Regions from separate parts of the Homo sapiens genome. Here region 2 is linked to region 1. The links are contacts of gene promoters, found by promoter capture Hi-C in human tissues and cell types (Jung and others, 2019). All regions are on one chromosome and are shown on one strand. The core of a region is centred on a gene start or on the middle of the fragment in contact, and the rest is flanking DNA. Distances in the headings are between cores, read along the strand shown. Region 1 holds the start of PLAA (phospholipase A2 activating protein). Region 2 overlaps MOB3B (MOB kinase activator 3B).

Region 1 (4,379 bases), core at 524-3,023:
AAAAAAACAGAAGATAAACTGGTGTTGAACTATGACAGATGGAGAAAGTGGAATTCTAAGTTTAAAAAAAAAATGCATGTACAAAGAGCATAGAGACATGGAGAGCATACAGCATAATGTGTTCAGGGAATTGTGACAAATTCGAAATGTCTAGAGTAAGAGAGATAACAGAGGGAGATGAATCTAGTAAAACAGATTAGGGAGATTGTGTGAAAGGCCCTATGTAATGCTGTACTATAAGAATGGAAAGCCGGCCAGGCGTGGTGGCTCACGCTTATAATCCAGCACTTTGGAAGGCAGAGGAGGGCAGATTATGAGGTCAAGAGATTGAGACTATCCTGGCCAACATGGTGAAACTCGTTTCTACTAAAAACACAAAATTTAGCTGGGCATGGTGGCGCGCTCCTGTAGTCCCAGCTACTCGGGAGGCTGAGGCAGGAATCGCTTGAACCCGGGAGGCGAGGGTTGCAGTGAGCCGAGATCGCGCCACTGCACTCAGCCTGGCAGCAGAGCGACACTCCGTCTCAAAAAAAAAAAAAAAAAAAAAAAAAAAAAAAAAAAAAAAATAATGGAAAGCCATCACAGGTTGTCAAACAGAGAAAAAACAATTAAGTGTATATTTCAGAAAGATAATTATATTTTAATGTGTAGGATTGGCTGGAGAGAAGGGGTAGAAAGGCCAGAGAAATGTTGAAATAATTTAAGTAGGACTAATTGGTACAGATTTCTAACAGATAGCTAGAAATACAGATCTAGAGTTTGGAGAAGACAATATGGGAATACAGCTCTAGAAATAAGCCAAGTAGTAAATAATCCACCCAGGGAGGGGATATGATAGCAAAGAAGTATCAAAAGTCAGCATTTCAAGAATGATCTCCCAAACCAGGGGAAAAGTGATTCCAAACCTAGAGTAGGAGTTTTAGGAAGGGAGAAGTCAGAAAAGTGTGAATTGGGCTTAGCAATTTAGAAAGGTTTGTGGAAAAGTGTAGTTGGATGCGAGAGAATAGCGGATGGGAAGAAAACAAAGTAAGGAGACAGGTCATGTTTACCCTGGCACTCAATAAGGTCTGATAATGACTAGCAAGTAGCACCACGGGTGGGTGGGCGGCGGGGTTGTTAAAAATACGTATCTCAGCTCTAACTCAGACCTACTGAATCAGAATCTACATTTTAACAAGCCGCCAGAGAAAAGTAGTTATACCTTTAAAAAATTGACTTGGACCACCGTATTTGCTAAATTTGACAACAGAGAGTAGGAGATTCAGATAACTTGAAACGGAGGAATAGTTCAATGATTAATAGTTCCCAATTTGGCCTCAAGCTTTCTCGTTTTAATTGAAAAACAAGGTTAACTTGCAAAAACCTCGAGATTCTCAGGGAAAAGCAGTGAGGATGACCTAACAGTAGACACCAAACAACCTCACTCAGCCATTCCGCCATGCCCAGCGCGAAAGACTCAGGTTTAAAATATCCGGATTCGGCGCGCCGGATGTCCACGCCAGCTGGCGCGGCATTATGGGAATTGTAGTCCCGGCCCGCTTCCCGATTTACCACAAACTGTTGGGCCCGGAGTCGGAAGAGACCCGGGTTTGGGAAGGACCCCAGGGTCAGGCGTCCTGGTGGAAGGGCGGGCCTCTTTCTCTCTTGCTCAGCAGGGAGTCCAGAGCCCTGGAGGAAAGCCAGCTCAGCTCCGCATCGGCGTCGGCGGTTGGGACGCACACACTCTGCGTCATGGAGGGCTGAGGCCGATGATGAATTCCGGAGTGCCTGTCAGGCTTGCTGTGTCACTCGGCCCGCTCGGCGCGCCCCTTCCCAGCCGCCCTTCCGTACCGGCTCTCGGGCTCTTCCGGTCTCCGGCCGCCCCTTACCTGCAGGCTCTTCTCCCGCCGCGGCCCGGCGCTCTCCGAGTCGCCCCTGCGGACTGGTCTCGCACAGTGCCTGGGCACCGGGCGCCAGACAGACACTGGCCATGACGAGCGGCGCAACCAGGTACCGGCTGAGCTGCTCGCTCCGGGGCCACGAGCTGGACGTACGGGGCCTGGTGTGCTGCGCCTATCCGCCGGGAGCCTTTGTGTCCGTGTCCCGAGACCGCACCACCCGCCTCTGGGCCCCAGACAGGTGAGCGCTGGGAGTCGGGTTGCCCCGGCTGTGTTGCACGCTTCCCGGAGAGTGGAAGGAGAGTGACCCTTCCCTGTCAGTCCTGCCGTCTCTCTCTCCCCCCAGCCTTCCCTCTGCTCTCCGCTCCCTTCCAATTCTCAGACTATTAGAACTCTGTAAGAAACCATCGGGATTTAAGTGGAAAGAGCACAGGGTTGGGGGACCAAAGACCTGCCTTGTTGTGCTAACTTGACCACAGACGAGTCTCCTACCTTTTGGGCCTTCAGTTTTTGGACGATGATCTCCCAAGTTTCTTTTAGACTTGAAAATTTACTGATTGCAGTTGCACCCTCCGAAGTGAGGTAGTTTGAAGGCATCTGAAATGTCCTCTTTTTTTTTTTTTTTCGAAGAAGATGCTCTGTAGTCTTCTGTAAAATTTAATTTTTGAAGACTTTAGTTCTCAAAAATTGCACTGGTGAATCCTCTTTTCGTCCAGGTTAGAATTTTAGTCTGTGGTCTGTGCTGGTCCTGAGGGAGTGAAACCTCTCGGATGTTTTGTTTCTGTGCATGTGCTGTTTCTTGAGGAGAAGCAGCATCCATTGCCTTCAAAGGATTTATCAGAAGGGTTCACGAACCAAAAAAAAAAAGAAGAAAAAGGTTAGGAATCAGTCCTGATCGAGTTCACGGGTTCAGCCCTGATTTGGCTGGTTGTAACAGGATATTTAAGACCTAGAAGACAGATTGCAGTTCAGAGAAAGAAAAATTGAGGTTAGTTATTTTGTTATTTAGTAGGTCTCCCACTGCTAGAGATTTTAGAATTTGAGTCACCATCCATAAATTCAGTTGATAACTGTTGAGTGCCTCCTCTTTGTTTGGGATACTGGAGAGGAATAAAGACAGACAAGTTGCCAGTGTTTCTGGAGCTTTCTTACAGTCTGATGGGGAAGATAGATTAAAAAACAAGCCAATAAATAATTAAAAACTGGCATGTGAAGAAAACATACAGTTAATTAGGTGGAGAGATATATTAAAGGAAGCCTCTCTGAGGAGTTGTTTGTTTAAAGTTGACATTTGAAGCATGAGATGGATGGAGCTGGTCGTGGAAGAGCAAATAGGGAGGATTGAATTGGAAGAGCATTCCAGGCAGCTGGAGGAGCAAACAGGAGGGAATTAGCTGTGAGGTGAGGGCAGGTTTTGAGGCTGGCAAGAGCCAGGTTATGGAGTTTGCAGATGGAAGCCTTCAAATAGTTTCAAGCAGGGAGCAACATGATCTGATTTCCGTGTTGAGAAGTTTCTGCTAGCTGATGGTAGAGAATAGATTGAGAAGGGATAAGTGTAGAAGTGGGTTTGCTTGGAGGCTTTTGAAGTAGTATAATCAACACAAGATGGTCCACTAGGCTAGGGATAGTATAGAGCAAATTCCTGTATTGAATTGAATGAGATGATCTCTAAAGATCTAACTCTAAAATTCTATAATATCCAAAACTACTTAGTAATACTAATATGGAACTTTTTGTTTGAGTACAGTTATTAAGTTTTTGCCTTTAAAATTGAATCCAGTAGAAGCATAAGCCCAGTAGAATATAACCATTGCAGTAAGGAGTATAATCAAGGATGCCTGTTTTAATAATGGAATCCTGTCATTAAACTTTTGGGACTGTACTAGTTTGACAAGGGTTTAATCACTGGAGTGGTTGTGCTTACCAGGAACTTGAAGAACTTTGGGCTGAACTGATTCTCTATTTGAAAAGTGATTTTGTTGTTCATTGAACTATTGATTTTTTTTTTTTGAGACAGAGTTTTGCTCTTGTTGCCCAGGCTGGAGTGCAATGGCACAATCTTGGCTCACTGCAACCTCCGCCTCCGGGGTTCAAGCGATTCTCTTGCCTCAGCCTCCCAAGAAGCTGTGATTACAGGCATGTGCCACCATGCCCGGCTAATTTTGTATTTTTAGTAGAGATGGGGTTTCTCCATGTTGGTCAGGCTGGTCTTGAACTCCTGACCTCAGGTGATCTGCCCACCTTGGCCTCCCAGTGTTGGGATTACAGGCGTGAGCCACCACGCCTGGCCGAACTCATGATTTTTTTGTTTTTGTTTTTCAAAATTCATTCCTGTATGTATTTATCTAACACTGATGAAGAACTTGCATTTTGCCACAGTGTGTGTTAGTGCGTAGTGAGATAAGATTATTTAGTCTCTCATATCCTGCTGGTTAGGTTAGCAAGCTTGTCCATCCTGTGGCCCATGGGTGGCTGTAAGAGTGGCCCAACACAAATTTCATA
Region 2 (3,807 bases), core at 527-3,026, 480 kb before region 1:
ATTGGGTTGGGTTCAGGCTAGGTAGCCAGGCCCACAGGTGTAAAAACCAACTTAATAGGCAAGATAGGGCCAGGTGGGCTTGGTTGGAGGGACTGCTGGAGAGCCTGACCTAGGAGGGAGGGAAGCAAAGGCCTCACCAAAGAGGCAGAAGAGAGGATAAGGAAACCTCTGTGAGGGCTCCTGAAGGGCATGATGGGAAATAAATTTGAACAGGAAGACTGAAATTCCAAAGGCATTCATTTCCCATTCAGTATTGAAACACAGATTCCAACTAGATCAAAGACAAGGCAAAAAATATGAATAGAATCTTTATTGTTCTGCACATTCCTTTTTTTTATTTGAACTAGGGGAAGATGAGCCACAAAAAAACAATGGAGTAAATCCATCTCTCGAGTTTGTTAGAAAATCTGAGATTTATTAGTGCCTTCTATGTACCTACTTATCCCAGAGGCATGACTACCTGGGCTGACATTAAGGCACTACTAGAGTAACTGGAGCAGAGAGGTGGCTGCATATGAAAAGCTTTTCCTTGTCCTTGCAGACATCTCTCTTCAAACCAGTCACTCTGAAAGAATGTTTGACGTTAGCCACATGGGAATTGTCTGGCAGGTGACGTGGTTCATGCCTGCTTGCATTTCTTTTTCCCTTGGAGGTAACCAGATGCTCTTTGGGAATGCTTGCACATTTGGGCTATATCAGTTCCTGAAGTTTCTCCTTTTGTTGAACATAAAGTCTATGGGTTGTACTAAGGAGGCTTAGCCCTGGCCTTCTGGTGGGTGGGAAAAAAAATGGAACTAGCACTGCTTTAGGTCTGCATCAAGGTGCCCTGAACTCTGATGCAGGTAGGCAGGAAGTCAAGCCTTGGAGGCATTTTTCACTCCCTGCCCTGGAATTCTGGGATCTGCTTTCAGGAGAGCATGTAGCCCTTGCTCTGCCTTTGCTCATGGCAAACTTGGATGTTCTCTTCCTAAATTGGCACCTAGAATAATCCAGTGTGTGCTTGCAGATTCATCTTGCCCACACAAGCATGGGATTCTGCAAGAAAAATCAAGCATCCCGCCTATTCCATTACCCTCCATCTCTCTGTACTTGTCATGAACTCTGAGAGCTTGCTTTTAAGCACATGGGGGTGGAGGTGGGAGGCGGGGATTATTCTGACTGAAACCAGTCCTCCAAGTCTAGGCAGTAGGAGGCTGCAGAAAAGGAAATAGTGCAAGCCTGGGAAGTGAGTCTTGGGGGAACCTAGAGGATCTCATTATTTTCCCCTTGGATTCTGAGTCGGGCAGGGGGGGACAGTGTCATGTATTATTCTGAGATTAGATATCAGCTGAGCCTGGACTCCTTTGAAGAAGCAGCAGCTGCTTCTAGGCATGAGGTAGAGCTCTGACAGGCAATGGCCATGACGCTCTGGAGCGAGCTTCAGAAATCCCTGCAGGGGTAGCATTGTGTGCCCAAACAAAAGATTCACTTCACAGTAGCTTGGTCACCTGCCTGGACCTCTGTGTGCATAAGCTTTGCCAATACACATGATATCTCAACTGATGCAGGCTTGAAAAACAGTGTATGTCCCCTAGACCTCTCCCTGCACCCCAACACTATACCTTCCTGTTCTGCTCATGCCAAGCAAAAATGAAAACAAAACAAAACGTATAACCCCTTTCCTTCCTATTTGGTGCTTGTAACTGAGAAAATTAGGTTTGAGTAACACTCAATGTACATGACTTTATTTATACCAAGTTAAACAAATTAAGAGTGTGGGCTCTGGTATCAACACAGGATAGGTTGGAATCCCAGTTTTGCCACTTCCTGGCTTACTAAGTCTCTGTGTCCTCATAGGTAAAATGGGGGATAACAGTAGCACTTACCTCCTAAGATTTACTGAGAGGATGAAATGAAACCATATATTTAAAGGCTTAGCTGTGGTAAGCACTGTGTAAATATTCAACTCCTCCTGCTTTTCCATAAAGAAACAGAGCACCCTCCTCCTTCTGCTGGGTGAATCAGGGCTATTTCGTCTAACGTCTAATGGATAAGTCAGTTTGCCGTCACTCTTCCTTCCTTACCTATGACTTTTCCAGTCCCTCATTTCAGGCCCTTTGTGGTTTGATTGATGAAAAGATGGTAGAATGTAAGCTTGAAATACATTGTTTGGAAATACCTTGGGGAGGGGGATGCTAGGAAAAGGGAAAGGAAGAGAAGGCTGACAAAAGAGCCTCATGCCTTCTAATGAACACACTGAACCCTTGACCCCTTTTAGACATAAGCCCACTGCATTGGACTTTGGGTTATAAATATAGGACTACAATCCATTATTCTGAAGTCTAGAAAAAGCCTGAAAACCATGAGTGTTTTCATCTGCATGAAACTATTTGTATTCTTTATTTATCTAACTTAATATGAACATTCATGTTTCCCTGAAAAGGTATTAATGTGCTTGATTCCAAGGTGCTGCCCCAGGCTCTGCTGGGGGTGTTATGTAATGGGTACTATATGTATCACAGCACCATTCTGAATTCTGAGAAATCCTGAATTTTAGAAACAGATCTGCCCCCAGTGACTTTGTTTTTTTGTTGTTGTTGTTTTGTTTTTTTTTTTTTTTTGAGACAGTTTTGCTCTTGTTGCCCAGGCTGGAGTGCAATGGCGCGCTCTCGGCTCACCGCAACCTCCGCCTCCTGGGTTCAAGCGATTCTCCTGCCTCAGCCTCCCGAGTAGCTGGGATTGCAGGCGTGCTCCATCATGCCTGGCTAATTTTGTATTTTTAGTAGACACAGGGTTTCTCCATGTTGGTCAGGCTGGTCTTGAACTCCTGACCTCAGGTGATCCACCTGCCTCGGCCTCCCAAAGTGCTGGGATTACAAGCACAAGCCACCGCGCCTGGATGCCCCCAGTTACTTTGAATGAGGATTTTCCTGTAACAAAAACTAACTGGAGGTAGTTTAGTTTAAGCAAGCAAGCAATAAATTATGGGTGGTGGAGAAAAATTTACTTCTAAGATTACAGGCATATTTCACAGAACCCTAGAGCAGAATGCAGCTGTCTTGGGAAGAGGCTGGAAGAGACCTGGAAGGTTGAGGACAGTTTCTGGAAGGTTTCTCTCTAGAGTTTTGGTTCTTACGACACAAGTATGGAACATGGATGGCTACTACTGATGCACCAACATAACTCTTGTGTTCTAATCTGTGGCAAATGGTAGGAACTTACTATGTATGAGTTGATTGGCAGATTGGCTTTCCAGTCTGGTATATTCTTTGCTCGGTGGCCAGTACAAATTGCATTATCCCATTAAGCTCACCATCAGCATTTGCCCTTTGTAGAGTCTGCGCACCCACTGGATTGGGCAGAAGTCATGTTGACTGAGTAGTCATGGGTCCCCATGCAGTTTATGATTGGCCCCCGGTGGTTCTTTCACTGGGTTTGGCAATAGCAAGAATCACTCAGAGTTTATCTTCCTCGCAGTTCTGGGGTTTGATTCATATAAGAACAGATGAGAAATGAAGTAAATGGGAGAAGGAAAGCAAAAAGCAATTGCTCTGAAATGACTCACTGGGGACCTGCCCTGTTCCTGTGTATCTCTTTGGGCCTTCAGTTTGAGCCTCATACACATTATTCTGTGTCCGTGGCTAGCACGTCTTGGGACATGGCTTCATTTGGTCATGGTTATTGGGATGTTTGGGATGAACCTCTAAATCAGCCTAATCATTTTTCTTCTAAGTTCATTGTCTGTAGTCTTAGTGTCTTTAAGAAGCCACAGAAACAGTAAATGTCCTTTTTCCATTTTTCTTCTCTTACTTAACAGCTTCATACCTA

Evidence for each region. The method cuts DNA at HindIII sites, captures the fragments that hold promoters and counts their contacts. A contact is called where the count stands out against the background at its distance.
Region 2: a fragment that was not itself captured here is called in contact with the fragment with the promoter of PLAA in region 1 in 1 of the 25 tissues and cell types used here (dorsolateral prefrontal cortex).

The regions. Positions count from the first base shown.
Region 1 is chr9:26,944,636-26,949,014 of GRCh38, reverse strand. PLAA (phospholipase A2 activating protein) reads left to right here and starts at 1,773. Exons shown (of 14, transcript NM_001031689.3): 1 at 1,773-2,118. The coding sequence starts at 1,970. It also overlaps a transcript of IFT74 not described here. RefSeq lists enhancers at 1,450-1,759, 1,349-2,022, 2,020-2,279, 2,023-2,698. The HindIII fragment of the contact is 5,571 bases long and covers 469-4,379 here.
Region 2 is chr9:27,424,167-27,427,973 of GRCh38, reverse strand. The region is part of intron 2 of MOB3B (MOB kinase activator 3B); the gene reads left to right. Among named protein-coding and RNA genes, the nearest start is that of IFNK, 98 kb to the left of the region's middle. The HindIII fragment of the contact is 3,927 bases long and covers 1-3,739 here.